Linked DNA regions of Homo sapiens: region 1 is linked to region 2. Evidence: promoter capture Hi-C in human tissues and cell types (Jung and others, 2019). All regions are on one chromosome and are shown on one strand. The core of a region is centred on a gene start or on the middle of the fragment in contact, and the rest is flanking DNA. Distances in the headings are between cores, read along the strand shown. Region 1 holds the start of C11orf97 (chromosome 11 open reading frame 97). Region 2 holds the start of VSTM5 (V-set and transmembrane domain containing 5).

What was found. Contacts are between HindIII fragments. The study calls those that stand out against the background at their distance.
Region 1: a contact is called between a fragment that was not itself captured here and the fragment with the promoter of VSTM5 in region 2, in 1 of the 25 tissues and cell types used here (heart left ventricle).

Annotation. Positions count from the first base shown.
Region 1 is chr11:94,511,352-94,516,513 of GRCh38, reverse strand. C11orf97 (chromosome 11 open reading frame 97) reads right to left here and starts at 4,053. Exons shown (of 4, transcript NM_001190462.2): 1 at 3,841-4,053. The coding sequence starts at 3,985. It also overlaps a transcript of MRE11 not described here. RefSeq lists a silencer at 3,805-4,024 and an enhancer at 3,877-4,395. The HindIII fragment of the contact is 8,524 bases long and covers 1-5,162 here.
Region 2 is chr11:93,847,522-93,852,340 of GRCh38, reverse strand. VSTM5 (V-set and transmembrane domain containing 5) reads left to right here and starts at 1,723. Exons shown (of 4, transcript NM_001144871.2): 1 at 1,723-1,929. The coding sequence starts at 1,839. The HindIII fragment of the contact is 15,680 bases long and covers 1-4,819 here.

The DNA.
Region 1 (5,162 bases), core at 1,688-4,187, 660 kb before region 2:
TGGCATGATAATAAATGCTCAACAAATGTGTGTTCAGTTAGAACTAAGCACTGATAAATTGGAGCTCTAACTAAAGACTGTGTGCATGTCTGTCAATGCAGTTATACGGTCACTGTGAATGTCAGTGAACCGATAGTTCTAATCTCAGTATCCAAAAGCTCAATTCAAGGAACCAATGAAAACCTAAACAACCAAATACTTTAGTTGTTTATGATTTGATTTTAAACTCACATATATATGGGCAGGTATCTCATCTTTTCCAGACTAATCAATAAACAACACAAGTGAGTCAATTTGACGGGGATGCAGACTGGCAAAAATGGGGCAAGAGACCTGCTGCTTCCGGCAGTGATCCCAGGTCATTCCTGGTCATGAAGACCCAGACACACCCTCAGACATGAAAAAGTTAGAATTACATACTTTCAGGGTCTCATTCTTGTTTCCCCAAAGTTGGAAGTCATATGAATAAAATATGGGATCAGCATTACTGAAGCCTAACTTTGGTTTAATCTGTTAAATCATGATCTTCAGGCAGAAAAAGGGTTCACAAACTTGGCTAGGAAGAAAACTAAGCCTATAACAGAACAACAGAAAGGAAAAGACCACCTGCTCTCAGTTCAGATCTCCTGACAAATTTCAGCCCTGGTGCTAGGAAAATGCACAGAAGAAATCATTAAAGGTGATTTGAAGAATTGTGGTAATTGGGAGAGTACTAAGGAGCTAGTACGGGTAAATATCTCCTGCTCAGGAGAAGAAAGGAAAGGAGGGGAGAGGGGGCAGAACTTTCAGGCAGAAAAAGGTTTCACAAACTTGGCCAGGAAGGAAAGGAGAGGAGAGGAAAGGAAAAAGGGAAGGAAAGGAGAAAGGACAAAAGAAAGGAAAGGAGAAAGGAAAGAGGAAAGGAAAAGGAAAAAAAAGGAGAAAGGGAAAGGAAAGGAAGGAAAAGGAAAGGAAGGGAAAGCAAATTTAAAAAAGAAAGAAGGAAGGAAGGGAAAGAGAGAGAGAAAGAAAATTCTACAAACTCTACCATAGCAGTTTGATGTTGACCTTTACCAGCATTTTAAGTGGATTGGTCGATAGATGTCTTGTGTGTATAGAGGATGAGAAGCTGTGATCACTGAGAAGTATGACTAAGAACAGTATTATTCCAGAATTTCTTTTGAAACAATTATTATTCCACGTTTTTTGGATTTTTTTTTGTTGTTTTTTGTTTTTTTTCCTGAGAGCTAATAACAATTGCATCTTATATATATTATTATTTCTCTTTCTCACAATGACCTATGGGCAAGTATAATTATTCCTGTTTTATAGTTGAGAAAGTAGCTTCCTTGAGTCATAAAACTAAAATAATGAAAATGAGAAGCCACACCTACCTGAGTCTCCCAAGCTCCTACGGTTATTACAAATTATTCATAGTTTATTACAACGCACAGTTATAGATCCACCACACTCTACTAATCAGTTCATACCTAGAATACAGGTTTCAGTGATATGATACACTGGAGATTGTTGGAAGAAGTGGCCAGCCAGCCAGGTTAGAGCACTACAAGTGATCCTAAAGGTGACATTGGCCAGGCGCGGTGGCTCATGCCTGTAATCCCAACATTTTGGGAGGCTGAGGTGGGCAGATTACTTGAGGTCAGGAGTCCAAGACCAGCCTGGCCAACATGGTGAAACCCCATCTCTACTAAAAATACAAAAATTAGCCAGGCGTGATGGTGCATGCCTGTGGTCCCAGCTACCTGGAAGGCTGAGGCCAAAGAATTGCTTGAACCCAGGAAGGGGAAGTTGCGGTGAGCCGAGATCGCGCCACTGTACTCCAGCCTGGGCAACAGAGTAAGACTCTGTCTAAAAAAAAAAAAAAAAAAAAAAAGGCAAAAATAAATAAAAAATAAAGGTGACATTAAGTCTATGAAAGATTTGGTTGGTGCTCAAGGAGCTGCCTTTATATAATTCAAGGATGTTTACAAGCAAACAACCACACTTCGTGTTTGAGAGCAGGACTGTGATTAGGGAATATAGGGAATAGAAGCTGTAAAGAGACTGAAGACTTTTCCAATAATTACAGACATTTGAAAAATTGACTGAGTACTTTGTGCTTGTGCGAACAGCCTGTCTCTACTTAGGCTGAGTCCCTAAAAGGAGGTTCTGAGGGAGGCTGAGGCAGGAACTCTTTCATTTTCCCACCCCAACTTTGTGAGCTTGTGAAAGTTTGGACACCTGCCTTAAGTCATTAGTTCTTTCCCTGAAACTTGTGGAATGCCTAGCATGTAATAAAGACTCAATATGTTAAATTGATGAGTGAATGTTAATCCCACCTTTTACTCCTAGAGCCACAGGACTAAAGAAACTTAGAAACTAGCATCTTTAATGGGGAAATTTCCTGATAGAATTTGAAGTAGGAGGCTGGGCGTGGTGGCTCATGCCTGTAATCCCAGCACTTTGGGAGGCTGAGGCGAGCGGATCACTCGAGGCCAGGAGTTGAAGACCAGCCTGACCAACATGGCGATACCCTGTCTCTACTAAAAATGCGAAAACATTAGCCGGGCATGGTGGTGTGTGCCTGTAATCTCAGCTACTCAGGAGGCTGATGCATGAGAATTGCTTGAACCCAGGAGGCTGAGTTGCAGTGAGCCCAGATCATGCCACTGCACTCCAGCCTGGCAACAGAGTTGTCTAAAAATAATAATAATCATAATAATTTTAAGTAGGAGTAAAGAATCTCCATTACCCAAGTATACTGAATTTATGTGCTCTAAGCAAGGCCTCTGCATGCTGCTGATAATAATAACAAAAGGAATGACATTTCATAGTCATACTGGAGCTGATGCCCAGGGAAGAGGCCCCTTTCACCAGGAGGCAGTAGTTCTGTAACTTCTTGATGAGGTCTCTGGGGAGGAGAGTGTGTGGTCCACCAAGCACAAGTATGGAGGTGCTTCAGCCCAACCCTCCCTCCTGGGGCCTCCCGGTGCAGAGGAACCTTGGAGAAACCCAGTCTGCTCTCCAGAGATGCAGTCAAGAAGGTGCTGCAGGAAGGCTGGAAACTACTCTGTTCCTCTGGCTTATTCTTCTCACCATCATTCCTTAGCACCTACTGAAGACCTGGGGGTGCAAGAGGCTGTGAAATATCTGTTAATTCATGAAACAGTATGGGTGAATAACAACCTGGCTAGGACTCAAATTACAACCACTTCCATTATGGCTGTGGGCCAGAACTGTCTTTACCTATTTGAATATTGTGTGTTTGTCAGGGCAGAGAGCAAAGAACAGTGCGTTAAAATGTAGCCCATAATTATGAGATTCTAAAAGGATTGGGTAATTGTAGACTGAGAGTCCAAGAGATGGAAGTTAAAAGTGATTTTAGTATTTCGCCTGCACTGACTGGCTGTGGCAAGTCTCTTTCCTCTGGTCTAGATCTCAATTTCCTCATCTGTAAAATGAAATAACTGGCAAAATGAGCTGCGTGTTTCTAAGGGTGTATACGCATACATACATACATACACATATACATATACAAATGTGTATATAAAATGGTATACATATAAATGTGTGTGTGTGTGTGTGTGTGTTAATTCCTTTCAGAATAACGCCACTATGATTAAATTGGAGCTGATGCCCAGACCCTGAATTCAGGCAGGCTATCGGGAAGGAGGGCTTGGAAAGATGGACCTATGCTTTCTGCCACAGTGCCATCATCTCTGGTTCTGCCAAAAGCAGCAGCTCCACCTCCCCTGCCCCAAACCTTCTCAGCCAGTCCCACTGCGGTTTCCCCCAATTGCCCTGTCACTCGTTCTCCACGCCCCTCCTCCCAGTAGCGTCCGCGGCTGGAGCTGAACTCACACTGCTGGCCGTGCTCTAGGGGGCCGCGGCCGGGTTCCCCGCGCGCCCCGCACCCCAGCCCTGCTGGCGGAGGAGGCTGCTCCTCTTCGCGACCCGCCTTGGGCGCCACCACTGCGGTCACCACCACCGCCTCCTCGCCTGTCATGCCGCAGCGGTCTTCCGAGAGCCCTGGGCACGGTTTCCTTCTCAGCTCAGTCGCAGGCAGCCCAGCATGCGAGGCGTCTCGGGTTGCCATAGTGACTGCCGATTCTCCCCGCCCCCAGCCGGCCTTCCGAGGCCCTAGGTATTCCGCGCACCAAAGAAGGTGCTGAAGTTATGGGGCTGGGGTTATTATTATCATTGACCAAAGCAAAGGACTTTCCATTAATTTCTCGTTAATTTATTGTTAATTTCTCACACGAGCTCGGCAAGAGAGGCTTTACTATTCCCAGAGAATCCGAGATTCAGAAAAAGCGAAGGAAACTGCATAAGGCCTCATAGCTAGGAAGCGGCACCGTTGGAATGTGGACTCAGAAGTCTGGTCCCAAGCCGACAGAACAGATCACTGCCCAGAACAGAAAAGTTAGAAGTGGAACCGGTGTGCAGGTGAGTGCAAGGCACCGTCGCTGGTTTCACGCAGCCTTGTGCCTGTCGCGTCCTGCTCCCTGCTACACACACGCAACGTGATTGAATAAGTAAATACTGAGGATTCCCAACTTTCACGTTGTGAATTATTATATTAAGCACATTGTAGTTTCCAAGCTCTTTTGTATTCACAAAATAACAAACTAATAACTAACTTTACAGATGAAATCAAATTCAGCAAATTTTAATTTGAAGAGCAAGTAGAAAAATTCAGGGTTTTATTTGGAGCATAAGGTTGCTTTTGTCTTGGTTTGGTTTTGCAGGCCTTAAAAATGGATTACGTTGTGGTGTTAATTTTATGGAAGTTGAATGTGCATTGTTTTATAGTATTAAATCGTTCTACAAGGCTTGCAACCAAATATAGGAGACCTCTTCTGTCTCCACTGTACCCCAGAGCCAAACACTTTTAATACCAAATCCTTATATTGCTGCTTTTTATGTTTTTCAATTTTAGATATCATGTTGATTTCCTACGATGAAAGACGAGATTTCTCTCTCTTTCATACTCCCTGTGTCACATATACTTATTGCTCCTTTATACTCCCATTATAGATAAATTGAAATTTTGGCTAGAGTAATATTTGTTTACATTACTATGACAATTGTATTAGGCTAGTCTTGCATTGCTATATACCTGAAACTGGGTAATTTATAAAGAAAAAAGGTTTAGTTGGCTCACAGTTCTTCAGGCTTTACAG
Region 2 (4,819 bases), core at 474-2,973:
TCGGCCTCACCAGGAACACATCGGAATTGGCAAGAAATCTCCTTTAGAAACCAGAAGGAGATAGGAAAGTACAGTGGATTACGATGTCTTCTATGTCTTCCTTCCTATCTTTTTTTTTAAACAGGGTCTCATTCTGTCACCCAGGCTGGAGTGCAGTGGTACATTCATGGCTTACTACAACCTCTGCCTCCTGGGCTCTAGTGATCTTCCTGCCTCAGCCTCCCAAGTAGCTAGTACTACAGACGTGGGCCACCATGCCCAGGCTAATTTTTATATTTTTTTTGTAGAGATGGGGTCTCAGTATGTTGTCCAGGCTGGCCTCAAACTCCTGGGCTCATGCAATCCACCTGCCTCGGCCTCCCAAAGTGCTGGGATCACAGGTGTGAGCCATCACACCCGGCCCTTCTAGGTCTTTCTATCTTCCTGCTCCACCATCCTTACTTAGCATGATGGTTTTTGCATTCATTTATGTAACTTAATGGATGCAAGACACATGCCACAGATCTGAACAGAATAAATGTTTTCAAGGCAGAAAGAAAGGGGGAGGGGAAGTCCCAGCCTTAGCTGTCCTTTTTATGAGGAAAGCAAAAACTTTTCCAGAAACACCTCAAAAAGACTTCCCCTTAAATATCACTGGCCAGCACTGGGTCACACTGCTACCCCTTGTGGCAAGTGAGGCTAGAAATTCTAGTTTTGACAAAGTGAAATATAATTTCATGACTAGTTTGGACCAAAACTGATTGCCCCACCCCTCCATCGACCTCTCCTGGAGACTAATTACACTTGCTCTGAGCCCCCAGAGCATGCTGGGCCTCTCTGATCCTAGCGACATATGCACTGTACAGCGGTTGCTTTTTTTTTTTTTTTTTTTTTTGAGACGGAGTCCCCCTCTGTCGCCCAGGCTGCAGTGCAGTGGCGCTATCTCGGCTCACTGCAAGCTCTGCCTCCCGGGTTCACGCCATTCTCCTGCCTCAGCCTCCCGAGCAGCTAGGACTACACGCACCCACCACCACGCCCGGCTAATTTTTTTTTTTGTATTTTTAGTAGAGACGGGGTTTCACTGTGTTAGCCAAGATGGTCTCGATCTCCTGAACTCGTGATCCGCCCGCCTCGGCCTAGCGGTTGCTCATTTTTTGCAGCCCCCACCCCTTGCTAGGATTTCTAAACAGGTGCCCACATCCTTGTATCCCCAGCACTTAACACAGTGCCTAGCTTCATTCCACCGGTTTATTTGAGTGACTGCCATGTGCGAGGCTCTGTGCAAATAAAGCAGGCGATTGGTGAACATTTCCTGGATGGATGGAGGGATGGATGGATGGACTGATGGGTGGATAGATGGATGGATATCATCACTGTGCAGTGGTTCCCATCAGGGCAGCCTGAGTCTCCCCACCCCCTCCCCTCATCCCTCTCACTCCAGGCTGTCATTTCACTTTCCTAAAAGCCTTCCCTTTGCCCATGATGCCAATGACTAGCTCTGTCCTGAAGCAATAGCTAGTACTTTCCCTCCTTCCTGCCACCTAGCATCCAGCCGAACCTTGAATCAATACCAGTAAAATGGGTGTGAACGGAAGGAGGCTGCTCATTATTTGCCATTATTTACCTCTGAGTCTGTGCATTCCCATTCCTTCCCATATTAATTCTCTCCCGCGCAACACCCCCCCCCCCCCGCCCCCCCATCCTTGGGAACTGGTTCAACCAGAGTACAACCAGCTCATCTGCATCTGGCCCTAAAGAACCTGCGGCAGCCAGAGGCGGAGGAAGAGAGAAGGCTGCATAGGAGCTGCAGCGCGGTGCGGCCAGCACACACCCCGGCCCGCGAGGCCCCGGGCTCGCCCATGAGGCCTCTGCCCAGCGGGAGGAGGAAGACCCGAGGCATCTCCCTAGGACTCTTCGCCCTCTGCCTGGCCGCAGCCCGCTGTCTGCAGAGTAAGCTCCGGGGGACGCCCCGGGTGCTGGGGGAGCGGGAATGGGTAGGGGGGCACGGGCGGGGCCCCGGGGTCTAGCAGCGGCCCCCCTGGCCCTCGCCCACCTTGTCCGGCTGAGGGCGCGCGGTGAGCTCGGCTGGCAGGCACCGCGCCGCTTCCTCGTGGGGCTGGGCGAGGCCTGGAGACCCGGCGCCGACCGTAGCGGGAGGGGCTGGGCAAAGCAGAGGCTACCGGCCGCGGCGCCCCGGCCCACTTCGGGGCGCCCGCCCCACCCGGCGAGCCCGGCCTACGGTTATCAGAGCTGGAAGGTGGCCCAGAGATAACCGGCTCCCAGCCCTGTGGCCGCCGCCTCTGCAACATTTTTTATTTCTTTTTCCTGGAATAACCAGATTGCAGTCCGTGCGCCGCCCCCTACTGTGGGGACCCCTCCATGGCCTTCCTGGTCATCTCCCAGGAGAATAATCAGGCCTCCTTATCAGTCAGACGAACCCACAGCAGCCTGCTCCCGTGAGAAAAACGGTTCTGGGGTTTGGGTTGGGCGTTGTGGCCTGAAGTCCCCAGGCTGGAGGTGGTCCTCGCGACCAGCGCACTGAGTAGATTTGCTTTGGATGGCCGGACCCGGAATCCCCAGCCTGGTGAGCCTGGATGCGAAGCGTAGTCCCAGAGGCTCTCTTGGACACAAACAACAGATCTTAGCACAGTTTTACTTTCTCATTTAATCATTACCATTCGCACTCCCATCTTACACATGGGCCAACTGAGGTTTAGAGAATGACAGAGCAGGGCCGCTGGAGGTGAGAGGCCTTGTAGTAAGAGCCAGCACTTATTAAGCATTTATGCATTCACCATCCCTCAGACTTTACAAGACCTCTCTCATTTAGTCCTTAGGGCAACCCTAATAAACTACTCTTATTCCTGTTTCACAAGTGAGGAAACTGAGGCACAGAAATGTTATAAGCCAATCGCAGGGGCTCATGCCTGTATTCCCAGCATTTTGGGAGGCCGAGGCCAGCGGATCCCTTGAGTCCAGGAGTTCAAGACCAGCCTGGGCAACATGGCAAACTGTCTGTAGTAAAAATATGAAAAAATTAGCTGGGTGTGGTGGCCTGTGCCTGTAGGCCCAGCTACTGGGGTGGGCGGCGGGGGAGCTGAGGTGAAAGGATCACTTAAGCCCAGGAGATTGAGGCTTCAGTGAGCCCTGATTGTGCCACTGCACTCTAGCCTGGGGAACAGAATGAGACCTTCTCCAAAGCGAAAGAAAAAGAAAAGAAGAGAGAGAGAGAAAAAATAATATTATGTTAACTTATACAAGGTGACTGAACGATCTAACATTTTTGACCTTTACACCTCTCTGGCTAGAACCCAGCTGCAGAGGTTGCAAATCTCAGAAACCCAGTAAGACAGAGGCATGTTCCTCTGGCAGCTATGGATCAAGAAAACAGTTGGTTGTTAGTCTCGAGCAGGTGGATGGGTGTGTTTGTCATTGCAGTGGCTTTTTATATTATTTCTCAAACCTTTATCACTTGTTTCTAATCACCATACTTACACATCTGTTCAGATACCCCTCATGCTCAGGGACCAGCCATTTGCAATAGCGTATAATTCATTCATTCACTCACTCATTGACTGTACCCTCTCCCTGCAGGAAGCAGGCCACAGTGGGTACCTAGGATATGGTGGTTCACTGTTTCGTTCTCAGGAAGCTCAGGTGTCATGGAGAAGACAGACATGCAAACAAGAGGGGCAGCCTTGCAATGGCAAGCCTTGAGAGGCAAGAGGTGCCATGTTCTAGAAGCCCTAGCGTCTCAGAATCCAGACTTGAGGAAACTTCCCCAAAACAGCCCCACCTGCCCATACCTGCCAGATGGGTAGGAGCAGCTCGGGGGACAGGACAAAGGGAATGCAGGGTGTACCAGACAAAATGGCACATGCAAAACCTGGAGGCCAGGTAAAAGTTTGCAGTTTTCCATTGAGACCTGTCTCATGGACAGCAGTAAGCTCCAGGAGGGCAAGCACTCTGTTTCAACTCAGGGTCCCTAGCACTTGCCCAGTGCTAGCCAGGGCCTGCGCCCTTAAAAGACGTTAAATGAATGTGTGCCTGCCTGAATGAAGCCTGTGCTTTGGAGCCAGTCATAATGATGAAGAGTAGGCCTCCTCCTTCCTACCAGTTCCCTGCATGCTCTACCTCTTCTGCCTGTGTCAAAAGCTTCATCCAGAACCTCTGATATTCACTATTTACCCTGAAGTCTGAGTTAAAGCATGCCAAACACCCTGCTTTTGAAACCTTTCCCCTACAAATGTATGGGTCCTCCCAAGATTCATATATTCAAGCCCTAACCTCCAATGTGATGGTATTTGGAGGAGGGGATTTAGGGAGGTGATTTGGTTTAGATGAGGTCTTGAGGTGGGATCCCATAATGGGATTAGTGTCCTTATAAGAAGAGGAAGAGAGACCAGAGCTCTCCCTCCCAGCTGTGTGAGGACACAGCAAGAAAATGCATATTAGCAAGCCAGGAAGAAGGCCCTCACCAAAAACTGGCACCTTGATCTTGAGCTTCCCAGCCTCTCCAGAACTGTGAGAAATAACTGTGGTTTAAGCCACATCAGTCTATGGTCATCTGTTACAGCAGCCCAAGCTGACTAGGACAAGGACTTATGGGCTCGGAAAGCTGGCAGGCCTCCCCACCAGACCAGGCACCTTTCTAGAACATTTGTTCATGTCCTTTCCCAGTACATTAGCCATCAGGCTCACGAGTACCCACCCAGTGCTCCCTCTCATTCGGAAGTACTTGATCCAAGACTATAGTAGGATAGTTTAGTTAATGGCCTGGGCCAGAATCAACTTGCTTTTTTCCAATCCCAGTTTCTAAGTAACAGTCAGCTCCCCCAAC